Regions from separate parts of the Homo sapiens genome. Here all the other regions are linked to region 2. The links are contacts of gene promoters, found by promoter capture Hi-C in blood cells and fetal thymus (Javierre and others, 2016). All regions are on one chromosome and are shown on one strand. The core of a region is centred on a gene start or on the middle of the fragment in contact, and the rest is flanking DNA. Distances in the headings are between cores, read along the strand shown.

Region 1 (3,914 bases), core at 1,385-3,884, 170 kb after region 2:
GGATTTCTGGGGTTTTTTTTTTTTCTGCTTTTTGTTTTGAGACGGAGTCTTGCTCTGTCACCCTGGCTGGAGTGCAGTGGTGCAATCTCGTCTCACTGCAACCTCCACCTCCTTGGTTCAAGCAATTCCCCTGCCTCAGCCTCCCTAGTAGCTGGGATTACAGGCATACGCCACCACGCCTAGCTAATTTTTTTGTATTTTTAGTAGAGATGGGGTTTCACCATGTTGGCCAGACTGGTCTCAAACTCTTGACCTCAGACAATCCGCCCACCTCGGCCTCCCAAAGTGCTAGGATTACAGGCATGAGCCACTGTGCCTGGCCTTTCTGATTCTTTTATAATGCCCCTCTTTCTTTCTTCTTTTCTTACTGACTTCCTTAGTGGTTAAGTGGTTTTTCTCTGACAGTATGTTTTTAGTTCATTGCTTTGCATTTTTAGTATATTTATTATTGGATTTTGCTTTGTGGTTACTATGAGGCTTACAAAAAACATCTTATAGACACAATACATTATTTTAAACAAATGACAACTTAACTTTGATCAGAAAGGAAAGCAAGGAAACCAAAAAGGAAAAACTAAAAAATGCTACACTTTTAAGTCCATCCCCCATACATCTTGGCATTCTGTTGTCTCAATTTATATCTTTTTTGTATTGCCTATTAAGAGGTTGTTGTAATTATTATTATTTTTGATAGATTTGTCTTTTAGTCTTCATACTAGATATATGAGTGGATTATACACCACAATTATGGTGTTAGATTATTCTCAATTTGTCTGTGTACTTAGTTTTACCAGTGAGTTATATGCCTCCAAATTTTTTTTTCATTTTAACATTGTTTTCTTTCATATCAAGTAACTCCTTTTATCATTTTTTGTAAGATGTGTCTAGAGGTAATGAATTCCTTCAGCTTCTGTTCATCTGATAAAAACTTTATCTCTCTGTCATGTTTGAAACAAAGCTTTGTTGGATACAATATTCTTGGTTGGCAGGGTTTTTCTTCCCCTTCAACACTTTGAGTATGTTGTCCCACTGCCTCCTGCAGGGCATGGTTTCCTGAGAAGTCAGTTGCCAGACAAATTGCAGCTTCTTTATATGTTATCTGCTTCTTTTCTTTTGCCACTTTTAGGGTCCTCTCTTTGTCATAGGCCCTTGAGAGTTTGATTATTATATGCCTTAGGGTAGTCTTCTTTGGATTGAATCCGTTTGGTCATCTGTGACCTTTACCTGTGTATTTCTATCTTTCTCCAATAGGGAAAGTATTTTCTTGTTAATTCTTTAATTAACTTTCTACCCCTTGCTCTTTCTCAACTCTCTCTTGACCACCAGTGACTCTTAGATTTGCTCTTTTGAGGTTATTCTCTATATTTTGCAGGCATTCTTTGTTCTTTTTTATTCTGTTTTCTCCTCTGTGTATTTTCCAATAGCCTGTCTTAGAGCTAACTGATTCCATCCTCTACTTGATCCAGTCTGCTGTTGAGAGCCTCTAATACATTTTTCAGTTCAGCAAATTTATTTCATCATTCCAGCATTTCTGTTTAATTTTATTATTTCAGTCTGTTTCAATTTCACTGATAAATTTCTTAATTGTTTTTCTGTGTTGCCTTGGAAGTTGCTGACTTTCCTAGAATTGCTCCTTTGAATTCTTGATCTGAGAACTCACACGTGGCTGTCTTATCAGAGTTTGTCACTGGCACTTTGCTTTGTCTGTTTGGGGAGGCCATGGTTCCCTGCTTGCTGTTGTTTCTTGTGGACATGCGTCTATGGCTTTACATTGAAGGATTATTTATTTATTCCAGTGTTTGTTCTCTGGCTTGTTTTGGTCTTTCTAGAATATGTTTGCTTAGAGGTCCTTTGCAGTTGCCTTTGGGTCCCCTTTATCCTAGATCACTGCCTCCTATTCAGCACTAGATGGTGGTATAATTGCTGGTTTGCCTCAGTTCTCTGAAACATTTGGCAGTACTGTCTCCAGTGGTGGGGAAGGGGTTGCATCTCAAAGGGGATATCCCAGCTATGTAGGAAGGCTGCCCAGGGTTCCTCCTCAGAAGACTTAGGGACTGTGCCTCCCACAGTGTTGTGCTGCTGAACAGCCACTCTGAATAGGCGTTTCCTTTGGCTGAAATAAAGAGCAGAAATTCTTGGGCTGGAGTTTTTAATCCTGCTTCTCCTCTTTGTCTGTAGCCTCCCTTGGGGGTTTTCTCTTCCTAAAGCACTTGTGATGCTTCCCATGGGCTGAGCCAGGAGTGGTTTTCCTGCAAGGGAGCCCAAGATGGTGAGGAAGCTGGCTTTCTGCTTTGATCTCACTTTATCCAGTGTAGAAATTGTGAGCTTAAGAGGAATTTCCTGCATGCAGTGCCAGGCAGATTCGGGGAGAGGCATTGTGGGTAGAGAAGTTCATTTCTGTTACCATCTGCGTGGAGCTTTTCACTTCTCTGTGGCTCCAGGAATTGTGTCAGCCTCAGGTTCAAGTTCTGGGATATTGCTGATGATAATCTTGGCACTAGAAGTTTATGTTTGGTTTTCTGTGGTAAAGAGTGAAGCCACATTGCTTCTACTCTTCCATTTTGGCGTTATCACCCTCTGTTGATTTTAATTTCTGACCAATTCAAAGCAAAATTATTAAATAGATAATGATAATATGACACAGAAGGAGTGATAGCCATAAACCTTCATGCAATGAATAGTATTGCATCAACATATAAAACTTAAAATGCTAGAAATTAACTGAAACACAATTACCTGGGGATATTTTATTGTACTTCACATGAAATAGATGAAAAACAAGAGTCAGATAATATTGGAATAATAACTGTGAACTAAGATACATAGCACATTTTGTAGTTTACAGATACAGAATTCACCTTCTTAATAGGTATGTTTGAAAATTTGATTTCTTATTAGAGTAAAAAAATTGGGCAGGCATCTTTGATCACATAATGTACCTTGAAAGTATTAGTAAATTTTGAACATTAGTGACACTCAACTATTCTTATACTCTTGGTAACTTCAGTTGTTTTTGTTTTTTTTTCTCCCCTGGAAAGCATGGAATGGAAAGTACATAGTAGGTACTCGTACTGCTTATTGAAATGAACTGTTCTATTTTCATTAAACCCAGAACAAAGTGGAATTTATTATTTTAACCTCTGAAAACACTGACCAAATCAAGCCTCATATTTTTAAGTGCTACATATAACCTTCACCAGTGTGATTTACATAAATATTTCCTATGTTATAGATCATGAAAATATAAAAATAAGCTAGGCTGGTTTTGTCTGAGGTTACATTTCTTTCTTTCTTTTTTGAGATGGAGTGTTGCTCTTGTTGCCTAGGCTGGAGTGCGATGACGCTATCTCAGCTCACTGTAACCTCTGTCTCCTGGGTTCAAGCAATTCTCGTGCCTCAGCCTCCTGAGTAGCTGGGATTACAGGTGCCCGCCACCATGCCTGGCTAATTTTTGTATTTTTAGTGGAGACGGGGTTTCACCATGTTGGCCAGGCTGGTCTCGAACTCCTGACCTCAGATGATTTGCCCGCTTCAGCCTCCAAAAGTGCTGGGATTATAGGCGTGAGCCACCACTCTGGGCTAAGGTTACATCTCTAATAAACTTCCGAACCATTCTGTTTTCCGGCTTGGAGACAAAGAATCATCTTATTGCATTGGTGCCACCAAAGGATCCTCTTGAATCCTGCTCTGTGCCCTTCAGCACTCAGTAGGTAATTCAGACTTAGGTATTAAAAAACTACGTACTATTAGTCTTCGTTTTTGAAAATAATTGGTGAGTATATTTTAAAATAGATTATAGCTTAATTTATGTCATTTTGATGGTTAGAATTTTTCAATTTATAGTAGTGCTTCTTAAACTTTTCTAATCTTTCTGTTATTATAGTTCAATTTTATATAATAACAAGTTACTATGT
Region 2 (3,845 bases), core at 1,135-3,634:
TAGAGCCAAATTTTCCACTCTGAGATTTATTTTTTCTGTCATGAACCTTTCAAAGTAAGATCTCTGAAAATGACTAATAGCCCAGTGTTGATTAAATTGTATAATTACCAGAAGAGAAAAGGGTGGCAGTGCTCAGAGAATCAAAGGAAATTAATATCTGCTGTGTGACTTTGGGTAAGTCACTTAACATTCCCGAGCTTAATTTTTCTGTAAAATGAGGACCATACTACTACCTGCATTAGCTACCTCACAGCTCTTTTGTGAGGAGTACACAAAAATGCCTACCTTCGCATAATAATGACATGAGGCCTTACAAAGTATAACTGAAACATAATAAAATTGAATGATGCATATGAAAGCACATTTACACATTATTCTTTCAAAATTACCAAGTTATACCATAGAACTGTAAGGAATTACTTTATTAGACAAAGCATTAGTGTTACTCACTTCTCCCAAGAGATTGTGCCTATTGCTCCACCTGCTTGACCAAGCTATGTTGCCTGTGCCATCTTTCCTATCATCTTATACTGTTATTCATACATCCTTGGATTGGCTTCTTTCTTAACTTTTTATGGTACATGCCTTATCTCAACCAGAACATATATTGCTTCTTTACATTCCTCTTGGAGCATAGTCAGTGTGAATGTAAAAAGGAAGCGGGATTGTTAGAGTGTATGACTAGAAAGAACGTGGAGAAAGTTTGAAGAGAGTGTTCTAAACACTGGGAAGTTATTGGATGTTTTTGAGCAGGTGACTAACCTAAGCTCACCTGTGCTTTGGGAAAACACATCCGGTGTTCATGAGAATAGACTGGAGGAAGGAATAACTGGAGGCTAGGAAGTGAATTTCAAGGAGATGGATGGCATGGTCCAGAAGAAAAACATGGAGAATTTAGGAAAGATGGCAAAAGCAAAATAGACAGGTTAGGCTGTTATTTGGTTGTGGATGGTGAAGAAATCCAAAGTACTTACTAGTATTTTGTCTTTGTGACCAGCTAGGAAAAACAGACGGTTAAGGATTTATCTTCTTAAAGAGGAATGGAGTGTGCAAAAGTGGGAGAGGAATGTGATCTTGATAGTACTAGTTAGTACTGACTGGGTCTTTCTTTGTACTTTTAATTTTATTTAATACACAACACCAATTGTAGCCATTTTGATTTTCTTTCTTCTCCAGCGGACTTTGAATTTAAGATTTTTCTTTGTGATCCTGTGCAAGCCTAGGTTGTTTAAGAAAAATACACGAATAGTTTCTCAGACACTTCCTCGTAGCAAAGCACTTATTAATGCTTGTGACTACAAATAATCAGCATTTCTTAGGTTTCTTCCTGTGTACTGTATCTCAACAACTTTTTGAAATATATTTTAGGAAAAAATTTCTAGTTCTCTAAAGAGGTGAATCTCAATGGGTGGTTAAATTTCACAAGGGTTGAAAGATCTTGTGGTATAAAAGCTCTGCTTTTAAGGTCGTGCTACATCAAAGACAGTTCAACGATAGCATGGAAGAAAGTGATATATAAATAACAAGTAACTCATACTTAAAAAGGCACTACTACGTTTTGTTTTTTATATCTGTAATGAGATAGGTAACTGGTTAGTGGCTAGTGAATTAAAAGCGAATCTTAGAGAAAGGGGAAAAGAACGCGTTTCCCACAAAACGCGTATATTCAGTTCTCATTCTATGATATCTGCCATTTGATGTGGTTCTGTTCCCCTCCTCCCACTTTCAAATTATTTGTCGCGCGCCAGTGGTCCCAGCTACTCGGGAGGCTGACACAGGAGGATCTCTTGAGTCCAGGATGTCAAGTCTGTAGTGAGCTATGATCCCGACACTGCATTCTACCCTTGGCAACAGAGCGAGACCCTGTCTCAAAACAAAACAAAACAGAAACAAAATAAAAAAACAATGTTTTCAAGAAGCAGAGACCAAGCCCCAGGCGGAGTCGAACTCTAGCAGGACAAGAACGCGGTCGGTCCCTTTCCCCCACCTGATCCACAGGTGCAGGGGTGGTTGCCTAGGTGACGCTCAGCGCATACTCCAGGCCAGGCGGCTCCGGACACCGCGATGCGGCCGGAGTTCAACAGCAGGTGACGGCGGGAAAGCAGAGCGGCCACATAGATGTCCCTGTACTCGGTAACTCTTGCCCTCCCTTGTTCTTCTCGAAGGTCCTTTTTTTTCTCGTGCACGGCTGACGAGACAGGCGCAAGCTAACTTCCCCCGCACTCCTCCGTCGGCCTCTAGAGGGCCAGGGCTGCGGCGCCTACAAAGCCTCGGGATCACAGCTGGGCCTCCTTAGCTACCGGCCGGGCGACAGCGCGCCTGCGCACCGGCGGGGTCACGCGCGCGGCGCGGGGGTGGGCCTGCGCCGGAGGGGCTGTCATTTGCAGCGCTGGTCGCAGCCCTCAGCTGCGCCGGGCGGTTCCGGCTCCTCCCTCTCCTTGTGCCTCAGCGCCACCATGGTGCTGGAGTCGGTGGTCGCGGACTTGCTGAACCGCTTCCTGGGGGACTATGTGGAGAACCTGAACAAGTCCCAGCTGAAGCTGGGCATCTGGGGCGGTAAGCGAGAGGGCGCGGCCAGTGGGCTGCGGGCGCTGAGGGCCCAGCCGAGGGCTGCTCCGTCCGGGATTCTGCCCGGGCCCTGCTCCCTGCGCCGCCTGAGACTCCCCATCCCGGTGCGGCAGGTGCTAGATGCGGGAGCCTCTGCCGCCCGCGGATTCTCGGGGTCCCAGTCCCGACTCCGGCTGGGGAGATGCGGCGGGATCCCGCCCGCGCTGCCAAAGTTCCCACCTTTCTCGTCCCCCGAGGCCAAGCCCTGGCCCTGCTGTCCCCGCCCTGCCCGTTTCTGTGGTCCTCTCGCTGCACTCAGGGTGGCCCCTTTGGCCCTACAGCATAAAAACAGAGCCCTTTCTGTTTCGGTATCGCGTGGAGTGAGCATGGTTGTCTGGTCATATACGCTCGAAGTGGCACTAAGAAAAAAGGAGGAAGTTGCATCTCGCAGTTATCTTCACTATCATTTTACAGGGAGCAAGAACTGGGTTCCTTCTCTTTAGGATTACCGGGTTTGGAGAGGAACGGGCAGGAGATCTTTAAGATAGGCGTGTGCTTAGGGATTCTTACTCTTAATGCTTTCAGCTCCTGTGAAAATGATTTCTTCCTTTAATATTTACTTTTCCGTCAATACGAAGAGGATTTTGAATTTTGTTTTGGAGCAATAGAGAGAAATTCAAGCCTCGACCAGCATCGTCATTAATTAGGTGTCTGCTTGGTTGCATGCTCAGGAATTTATGCCAACGTTTTTATCCTGGAGATTAAGTGTATAAAAGTATTCAGGAAATAGTGTACTTAAACATACACTCTTCAACGAGCTTAATCGTTTGCATGAATTACGTGTTAAGCTTTGAGGACTTTGGGACTTTCTCACTCCACAAAAGGTTTGGGAACTTTGTCAGCTTTGGAGGAAAATTCAAAAAACGACTCAAATGTATGGATCTGCTTTTAATTCAAGCAACAACAAATAGCTATAGACTTCCCCTGTCCACTAGGGTAACCACTAGCCACTGTAGCTGTGGAGCACTTGATATGAGGTTAGTGCTAATTGAGACTTGCTGTATGAATTAAAACATCGTTTTGAATAAGCATTACTCCTAATGAAGTAGGAGAAAAAAATAATACCTCAATAATTTTTATGTTGCTTATGTGTTGAAATAATATTTGAATATATTGGGTTAAATTAAATATAATATTAAAGTGTATTTCCCGTGTTTTTTAGTTTTACTTTTTTTCTTTTTAAACTTGGCTTCTAAAATTTATAATTACGTATATGGAACATATATTGGGCAATGCTG
Region 3 (3,755 bases), core at 833-3,332, 150 kb after region 2:
GGCGCTATTCACAATAGCAAAGACTTGGAACCAACTCAAATGTGCAACAATGATAGACTGGATTAAGAAAATGTGGCACATATACACCATGGAATACTATGCAGCCATAAAAAATGATGAGTTCATGTCCTTTGTAGGGACATAGATGAAGTTTTCATATTTTAAAATAAAATGTCTTTGATTTTTAAAATTTGCTTTGAGATATTTCAGTAAACCATGCTATCAAAATTTACTGGTAATTATTTGAAGGTGCTGCTATATCAATATATAATGCCAACATATATTTATAACAGATCAGAGCCAGTTTGCTTTTTAGTAAGAACTTAAGGAAACAGGCCGGGTGCAGAGGCTCACGCCTGTAATCCCAGCACTTTGGGAGGCCGAGGCGGGCTGATCACTAGGTCAGGAGTTCGAGACCAGCCTGGCCAATATGGTGAAACCCCATCTCTATTAAAAAGTACAAAAATTAGCTGGGCATGGTGGCACATGCCTGTAATCCCAGCTATTCGGAAGGCTGGGGCAGGAGAATTGGTTGAACCTGGGAGATGGAGGTTGCAGTAACCCGAGATGGCGCCACTGTACTCCAGCCTGGGTGACAGCAAGACTCTGTCTCGAAAAAAACCAAAGCTTTTGTGTTTTACGTAATATTGAAATTCCATATGTAAGTGTAGATTAAACCAGTACATCAAACATACTTTTTTTTTTTCTACAATAGAATGGGGGTATCTTGGTGGATGTAAACACTGCCGAACATTCAACTGTCATAACTTTTTCTGATTACCATGAGGGATCTGCACCTGCCTTGATAATGAACCATACACCATGGGACATCCTCACATACAAACAGAGGTATGAGAAAAAAGGGTTAATGGGAAATACTTTTATTGGTTCATAGTAACTAATGGGAAACACTTTGGTTTCATATTCAAAATGTTTTTAGATTTTAGAAAGGTGATATGGAACACATGGTATTTATCTTTAATACCCTTACATGTTTTGAGATAACACTCTGTAAACACATTAATATTTCTGCAGCAAAACTGATGAATATTCACATCAAATGGGATAAATAGAAATTATTAATAGTTTCGTATCAATTCAGGTCAGGTTTTGCCGCCAAATGAGTTTTGATACCAAATTTCCAGAAAAATCTTTGGGCTTTTAGAGCTTTTTAAATTTCAAAATGGCAGATAAGGGAGTGAACCTGTTTAAGTATTCCCTTTCCTGGTAATCTGGTAACGCTCAGTGAACCTCTTCCTATAAATCTGTATTTAGTTTTTTTGGGTAGGGATAGTAGAAGGTTAAATGAGAAGACGATGAGTAGATAGTGGTGTTGAATGTATATCATTGGCTGATAGGAATTTCATTGTTCTTGCCTTTGCTGTCATTTGTTTTGGATGATGTCATTATTTAATGGTAGAGAATTTAAGCCCTTAAAGTATCGTATAATTTTATTTATAAAATTATATTTATATTAACATATGTATATATGTGTATATATTCATGCATATATACACACATATAAATGTATGTATATATGTAAATTTGTTAAAGATTTCCCTAGTCTTAATTCTAATGGAGTGAATCCAGTGAGAGACTTAAAAGTACAGATTAGGATTAAAACCTAGTTGGATTACTTTTTTTCTCCCAGTTCTCTGGAATATTTTTTGCATTAAATGGACAAATACTTCTTAAATTGTAATAATCAATTTTAAAATCTCCTGGGAGTCTTGTTAAGATGCAGATTTTGACTCAGTAGGTTTTGGATGGGACCCAGGACTTTGCCTTTTCCTGCAAGACCCCAGGTAATACTTATTCTGCCTGTTTACGGACCACACTTTGTGTAGTAACAGTGTGAACATAATTTTTTTGTTGCTGTGACCCATAATATATCTTAAGTATTGTATTTGTTAAAAAGCTTAGCTGGTCACAGTAATGCATACCTATAGTCACAGCTACTTGAGAGGCTTGGGTAGGAGCATCTCATGAGCCCAGGAGTTTGAGGCTGTAGTGCAATATGATCTTGCCTGTGAATGAACACTGCATTCCAGCCTGGGAAACAGGGAGACCCTGTCTTTAAAAAATATGTTTAAATTTAAGCACTGAATAGAAGTTCTTCTGCTACTAAACATATTTCCTCTTCACAGCCATTTCCACAGGTGGACCCTGATCTGGCAATCTGTTTACCTAATGAATTCCATTGCTATGATTCCACTTGGATCAATTCCGAGTGCATTGAAGCTTCAGAAAGGGCAATATTCTGTTTCCCCGAGCTTAAAAACCATGAGTTTATTAGATATTTTAGGGTACTTGTTTTTAGGTAGAGTTGTGTTTTATTAACCACAGCAATTTCGTAGGACTTCTGTGCTAATCCCTTCCTCAGTAAACTACAGGTTTGGGTTTCTTATCTCCAAGATATTCTGATTTTCTCTCTGTTCATTGTGTTTTAGTGGGTCACCAGAAGAAATGGTCTTGCTGCCAAGACAGGCTCGACTTTTTGCCTGGGCAGATCCTACTGGTACCAGAAAACTTACATGGACATATGCAGCAAATGTTGGGGAACATGATCTGTTAAAGGTATCTTTTGATGTGAATGAGTGCTATATGAGTTACCTGACAGTGAAGGAAGTAGAGAAGCTATCTTCACTGACTCCTTGTCCTAATTGAACTAAAAGTGAATTGGAAGTATTTCCAGAAAAAGTAGCTTTTGGACTTTAGATGGCAAATACTGTAGTTCAAACCAGTATATTACCTTAGCTCTATCAAAGTAATTTATTTACAATTTAAAAAATAGACCTGCTTTATCTTGCCTATGTAAAGCACCTTTTTAATTAATTTACCTATTTTAAAAGGAAGGAATTGTAAGACTAAGTTAAAAACAACTTTATTTTGAACATACCTATGCCACTTTTGGCTATGAGTTTTTAAAGCTTGTTTTCCTAAGCACAGCTATGTATTTTGTTAATTAATGAAGTCTGATAGTATGCAAATTATCGCATGTAAGAAATTTAGTGAAATATTTATCGAAACAATATTTAGGTAGCTGAGTTGATTAAATATGTTATTTTTTAGACTCTTAGCCTCTGAAAGGGCCCAAAGAATTCATATACCATCCTCCCATCTGATATAGGAATTGCTCCTGCATTAGTAATATATCATCCAGTTTCTGTATGAATAAAATCCATGATGAAAGAGTTTAAATAGTGTCATTGTCCATTGTTCACTTGTCCAATAATGCCAGCTGTTAAAAGGCTTTCTTGACTTTTGCTTTAAAATGGTAATTGGCCAGTAGTTACTGAATTATCCTCATTTCTTCTCTCCTCACATTTGATACTACTTAGCAACTGTAGCTCCCAGTAAGTAGCATGTAGATACTAGAGAGAAGGTAGCAATGACATTCTGGAGGAGGATATCAAGGTCTGTGTATAGAAGGAGATCCGGGAAGAATTCTGTTCACAGCATGGTCAGGGATTTCAGTTTTTAATGTTTCTCTTCTATTTGGTGTTAGAGAATGAGGCAGTAGGAAGAGAGGGTGATTCCACCTCAGTCAGCAGATAGTCTGCCACGTATTGAAAATTGAGCTATAAGCAAGGAAATCGTTTATGTCCTTGTCCACTCAGTTGATCAAAGAAGGGAGTTCTGCTTAGGCCCAAGTGGACATGACAGGGGAGTTCAAAGAAAATCATACATTGTTGGCAAACACTAGGTTTACACAGATCTTTCCTCATTTAAGTATGATAAACAGAAAAAACCCC

What was found. The method cuts DNA at HindIII sites, captures the fragments that hold promoters and counts their contacts. A CHiCAGO score of 5 or more calls a contact.
Region 1: a contact is called between a fragment that was not itself captured here and the fragment with the promoter of VPS13C in region 2, in 11 of 17 cell types (naive B cells, total B cells, non-activated CD4 T cells and 8 more). The highest score is 10.3, in naive B cells.
Region 3: a contact is called between a fragment that was not itself captured here and the fragment with the promoter of VPS13C in region 2, in 8 of 17 cell types (naive B cells, total B cells, naive CD4 T cells and 5 more). The highest score is 8.8, in naive B cells.

What each region holds. Positions count from the first base shown.
Region 1 is chr15:61,890,432-61,894,345 of GRCh38, reverse strand. The region is part of intron 66 of VPS13C (vacuolar protein sorting 13 homolog C); the gene reads left to right. Among named protein-coding and RNA genes, the nearest start is that of LINC02349, 160 kb to the right of the region's middle. The HindIII fragment of the contact is 3,348 bases long and covers 961-3,914 here.
Region 2 is chr15:62,058,986-62,062,830 of GRCh38, reverse strand. VPS13C (vacuolar protein sorting 13 homolog C) reads left to right here and starts at 2,384. Exons shown (of 85, transcript NM_020821.3): 1 at 2,384-2,556. The coding sequence starts at 2,457. VPS13C-DT (VPS13C divergent transcript) reads right to left here and starts at 2,328. Exons shown (of 2, transcript NR_135690.1): 1 at 1,988-2,328; 2 at 397-1,863. RefSeq lists an enhancer at 2,073-2,122 and a silencer at 2,173-2,522. The HindIII fragment of the contact is 3,439 bases long and covers 1-3,397 here.
Region 3 is chr15:61,906,086-61,909,840 of GRCh38, reverse strand. VPS13C (vacuolar protein sorting 13 homolog C) reads left to right here. Exons shown (of 85, transcript NM_020821.3): 65 at 716-849; 66 at 2,451-2,577. Among named protein-coding and RNA genes, the nearest start is that of VPS13C, 150 kb to the left of the region's middle. The HindIII fragment of the contact is 323 bases long and covers 1,921-2,243 here.